Linked DNA regions of Homo sapiens: region 2 is linked to region 1. Evidence: promoter capture Hi-C in 16 types of primary human blood cells and fetal thymus (Javierre and others, 2016). All regions are on one chromosome and are shown on one strand. The core of a region is centred on a gene start or on the middle of the fragment in contact, and the rest is flanking DNA. Distances in the headings are between cores, read along the strand shown.

Region 1 (2,711 bases), core at 97-2,596:
AGAGGTGGGATCTCTGTATCATTTCTTTTTTTTTTTTTTTTTCTTGAGACGGAGTCTCACTCTGTCACCAGGCTGGAGTGCCGCGGCCCGATCTTGGCTCACTGTAACTTCTGCCTCCCGGGTTCAAGCGATTCTCCTGCCTCAGCCTCTCGAGTAGCTGGGACTACAGGCACATGCCACATGCCCGGCTAATTGTTGTATTTTTAGTAAAGACGGAGTTTCACCATGTTGGCCAGGATGGTCTCAATCTCTTGACCTCATGATCTGCCCGCCTCGGCCTCTCAAAGTGTTGGGATTACAGGCGTGAGCCACCGCGCCCGGCCTATATTTTCTTATAACTGCATGTGAATCTGCAAGTATCTATATAACATTTTCGATTAAAAGAAAAAGCAATTCTGAAGGAGTTGAGATCCATGAGAATTTACCATTTCATGTTAAACCATTTTTCATTAAGATTACATTATAAACATTTCCCCGTGTTTCTACAGACCTTGCAATAATCACTTACTGGCTACACGGCATTCCATCTAGTGGGTGTAAAACCGTTCCCTTAACCATTCTCCCTTGCTAGGTGGCGAGGTTGTTTTCAATTTTTAGCTCACACTAATAATGCCATAATGAACATGATTATGCCTAGGGCACGGTTATTCCTTTGAATTATTTCATTAGGATACATTCCCAGGGAGTGGGGTGCCTGGGCATAAGGTTCTGGACCTTTATGACTGTATTAGGTATTATTAATTTAATATTATATCCTTATTATTGCCCTTTCTAAGGTACAGATCGGCTTTTCCCCAAGTGAGCAAAAGTTCTCTGGCGCGCCTTTCAGCATTCAGATTTGTGGGGGAAAACCTAGGGGCCCCCCACTTGTTTCCGCCTGCACAGTGTCAGGCCAGAGATTTGAGTGGCAGAATGACAGAGGCAGCAGAGTGCAGCTAGAGGAGCTGTCACGGGCGTCACCCTCCCACGGGGCCCGGGCGGGCGTCCGGGGACCTCCTGGGACTCGGTGGCGCCGGCTACCTTCTCCCCAGAGCAGCAGAGGCCGTGAGGGGCCCTGCGGGGCCATGAGGGCGCGCGGCTTTCTTGAAAACAGAGCAGCCTCTGCTCACCCTGCAGGCGCTCTGGAGCTGCAGGAGGCCATTTCTAGAAGGCACCGGATTCGGCCTAATGCGGTGGCGAGGCCGCTGCGTCCCTCGGAGCCCGGTGGGGAGGCCCTGGGTGCCGCGCCCCAAGGCTCGCGGGCGATTGCCGCCCGTGAGGCGCCGCCGGGGAAGTCCGGAGCCCTGGCGTCCCCAAAGCCGTCCGCGGCTCTGCGTCCCAGTCCCGGGCGAGCGCCGCGCAGAGGCCCGAGGACCCCACGCCTGGGTGGGGAAGGCGCGGCCTCGCCATCTTGCTGGGCCACGGGCGCTCGGCGCAGGCGTGCGCGCTTGTGCAGTGTTCACCTCTTTTGGGATTTTATTCTCGTTTCATTTAATTTAACTCATTTAAAAAATTTTTTTTATTTTACTTTTTCTTTCATTTTAGTTTTGTTTTAAATTTTATTAATTTCATTAAATTTAAATTTTGTTAATTTAATTTTAATTTTAGGTGGTTTTTTTTTTCAGTTTGGATTGCCAGGTTAAATGTAGGAGGTCCAGTTAAATTCAAATTTCAGATAAGCAACAGATACATTTTTAGTATACATCTATCCTGTTTAGGATGTCCTATTTAGTATCAGAATGTCTCCAACGTTTTGTCCTGGTTTTTTGTTTGTTTGTTTGTTTGTTTTTTGCGACAAGGACTTGCTTTGTTGCCCAGGCTGGGGTGCAGTGGCACAATCATAGTTCACTGCAGCCTCCAACTCCTGGACTCAAGAGATCTTCCTGCCTCAGCCTCCAGAATAGATGTACACCACTACACTCAGCTAATGTTTGTATTTTTTGTAGAGCTGGGGGGCGTCTCGCTATTTTGCCCAAGCTGGTCTCGAACTCCTGGGCTCAAGTGATTCTCCTGCCTTGGTCTCCCAAAGTGCTGGGATTCCAGGCATGAGCCACCACTCCTGGCCTGGCCTGTATTTTTATTTGCTAAATCTGGCAACTCAATTTGTGGTAGAACCCCTTCTTTGGAGGACATCTGACTCAGAACCCTAATACCTACCCAATGACAGCGAGTGGTCTGTGTGAACTGGGGCCAGGACTAGGGGGTGCAGGAATGTGAGTGTCACCCAGTGTCTCCCAGACTGGCCTGAGGAACCCCCTGAGCAGAACCGAACCACTGAACCTCTCTTACAGGGGCTGAACTCCCCGAGGGCAAGACAGCAACAGCCGCACCAGGTAGACTCTGTACATTGGATTATTCCAGCCATGGCTGGCTCCTGTCCTCTCAAAAGTCCCTCACGGGCCGGGCACAGTGGCTCACGCCTGTACTTCCAGCACTTTGAGAGGCCTCACTTGAGGCCAGGAGTTCAAGACCAGCCTGCCCAACATGGCAAAACCCTGGCTAATACAAAAAATTAGCCAGGCATGGTGGCACACACCTGTAATCCCACCTACTTGGAGAGGCTGAGGCACAAGAATAGCTTGAACCTGGGAGGTGGAGGTTGCAGTGAACCAAGATCGTGCCACTGCACTCCAGCCTGGGCAACAGAGCGAGACTCTGTCTCAAAAAAAAAAAAAAAAAAAAAAAAATCCCTCAGGCCCATATCCTGTGAGCAACAAGCTCTGAAGGAGGGG
Region 2 (2,711 bases), core at 154-2,653, 260 kb after region 1:
GGGGAAATCCACAAGGTTCCTGGAGGAGGGAAGAGAGGACAAGAGGACCCTTTCACTTTTTCTTTTTTACGGAATTCATCATCAGAGAAGAAAATAACAAAAATGGAAGCAAACAACATCAGAACCCCTGTAAGTTTGGTGTGACCTTACAGACAAGTTGCTGCTTTTACAATGAGTTCCTTAGGTGGTATTTTAACCCATCGATCTATAATGATGACTCTTGGCAGCCCTTTGGGAGTTTGTAAAATGAGGTGATACAGTTCTGAATTGAGCATTCCTTTATGATATTCACTCTGTTCCTCTTCTGCAGCCACCAGTGGGAGAGACAAGCCAGTCCTAAGAGAAAAGGTGGTGGCAGCCACAAATTCTAGGTACACTGGCTGCTGCCTATCCTGTCCCTGGATCTGAGGCCTTTCCCTTGCCATAGAAATGGTTGCTGGTAGCAGTAGAGAGCACTGTGCACCTGGGAATGAGGAATCAGGCCCCAAGACAGAAGTACTTGGAGGAGCCAGCTGCAGTAGTATCCGCCTGTAGTCCCAGCTACTCAGGAGGCTGAGACAGGAGGATTGCTTAAGCCCAGGAGCTCAAGTCCCACCTGGGCAACATAGTAAGATCTTGTCTCTTAAAGAAAAAAAAAAAAGGTACTTAGAGGTCGCACTTAAAGATTATGCACATCAGCAGAGGAAAGGCCAGCCAAGCTTGGGGCAAGCTTGATGCAGTAGGAGAGACTCCTTATGAGGCTTAGCCCTTGTCTTACTGCCAGCCTTTGCCACAGGCAGGTGAGAAAGGCAGGGCCACTCCTCAGCAAAGTTGGCCTCTTCTACACTTCCTCACCAGTGTTGTTTCTTCCTTTTTTCCCCTCTTCCCCTTCCCGTCTTGTGTTTTTTCTGAACCCCACATCTGCCATCATTTCTCTCCTCTAGAGTCCCTGGCTTCTGGCCACTGCCTCCTCCCTCTTCTAAGCCTTGGCCTGAATCTGGTTGATCAGAGGCAAGTGTGGATCCTTTGGGTGGCAGTCAGGGGAGATCTCAGGGCCTCTGTTGGGAGGAATCTCTGTAATTCCTGCTTGGGCTCCAAATTTCTGAAGAGTAATATTTTTAAACTATAGCTTACAAAATACATTCTCTGACCACAGTCTCCTCCTTGATATACAAGGGATGGATGAAGTTCATGTATTAGGACTGGCACTCCTTACGGTGCTTATAGAACTAGTCTCACCACTTGACTCATTACGTCGTCATTCTTGTTACATCACTCATACTTTTAGCTGCAACCACACTAATTCACATTTTTATATACTTTCAATTAGCTGTACTAATTGGGGCTTGAAAGTATATAAAATCTTCCTGTCCTGTGAATTTTAAAAAGCTATCCCATATCGATTGCCAAAGAGCATCTACCTTACCTCCTAAGAAGAAAAGCCACTTTCTTCCAATCCAAGCCCACTGCAGCCTTGTGGATTTTCCACACAGCAGCTTTTCACTGTATGCCTGTACTTGGGCTGCACTGAGCTTGTCTTCAGGAAACCAGAGCGTTGCTTTATCATCGCACTTTTCATCTTGGTAATATCAAAACAACTTTTTAAATGAACTGATTGATATATGTTATTTCTTGCGAGGTTTTCCTCTGGCCTTTAACTGGCTTCTGAGGCTACAGAACTCCAACCCAGAGTTCTTCGGGACCTAAATTTTGCTTAAGGAAGGCCTTTATCATGCTGAAAGCACTCAGACATGTCTGTCCTCACAGCAGAATGTAGAAGTCATATGAATGAGGGATCGTGCACGGTAGCGTCAGCCCGAATTGACACGACAACTCTGAATGTGTGGCCCTCTATGAAAGCTGGTGCCAGTTTTCATCACTGTTATTAAATACTAGATTGGGAACCTCATTCAGCCGTATTGCACAGATGAGCAATTACAGCAGAGAAAATTCATTAGTGCTCCCACTCATATCCTTATGTGTGAGTTGGTGAAATTTAGCCTGAGCTTGATTCTTAGGTCTTGAGACTCAGTTTCCAACACCTTCATTATTAATGTTAAGAATGGCCATATACCACTTCATTTACGTAAAAGGAATAAAATAAGCAAGTTAAGCTTCAGGGTCCTAGAATTTTTCTGATTTCTATAATCCTTCAGCAGAATATTAAGAAATAAAGCATGATCTGCAATGGAAAGGTTTTTTTGGCACTAACTTCATGCAGAATTTCACAGACATCTATGCATTAATTTAAATTCTTGGTGCAAATGTGTGCTTTGTAGTTCAACCTTATTAAAAATTCTTCAGCCAGTTAGGATTTCAAAATACATTAGTGAGAGTAACAGCTAGCAGAATAATTACAATGGCTAAAACGTTTTTATAGAGAATCTTGTTTTTCAAAAAAGAATAAAAAGTTTGAATAGCTATTATTAAAGAAAAGCCATGTCTTCAACATCTGAGTCACCAAGAAGTAACACTTTTTAAACTTGTTAGAAATCCCTGGAGGCATTTCAAATTCATCTTCTAACCTACCTAAGCACTTTAAAATACAGCCTCCTTCTGTTCCTCTGTTCCCCTTCATGCCTCCTTTTGAATTGATATCTCAGCTGTCAATATTTCTTTGACTTCAGCATTGTTATTTTATTTCTCTATATCAATGTGTCCTTAGTTTTCTTAGCCTGTTAATTTAAAAATCCAGACTTGGGGGTCATTGTGTTGCTACCCAAGAGAAAATG

Evidence for each region. Contacts are between HindIII fragments. The CHiCAGO score rates a contact against its expected background, and 5 or more counts as called.
Region 2: a contact is called between a fragment that was not itself captured here and the fragment with the promoter of LINC01381 in region 1, in 2 of 17 cell types (M0 macrophages and M1 macrophages). The highest score is 5.3, in M0 macrophages.

Annotation. Positions count from the first base shown.
Region 1 is chr2:25,202,948-25,205,658 of GRCh38, reverse strand. It overlaps LINC01381 (long intergenic non-protein coding RNA 1381), which reads right to left and starts at 1,346. Exons shown (of 2, transcript NR_132378.1): 1 at 1,110-1,346. RefSeq lists a silencer at 1,009-1,348. The HindIII fragment of the contact is 10,460 bases long and covers 1-2,711 here.
Region 2 is chr2:24,944,605-24,947,315 of GRCh38, reverse strand. It overlaps DNAJC27 (DnaJ heat shock protein family (Hsp40) member C27), which reads left to right. Exons shown (of 7, transcript NM_016544.3): 7 at 1-2,711. Among named protein-coding and RNA genes, the nearest start is that of ADCY3, 26 kb to the right of the region's middle. The HindIII fragment of the contact is 1,384 bases long and covers 712-2,095 here.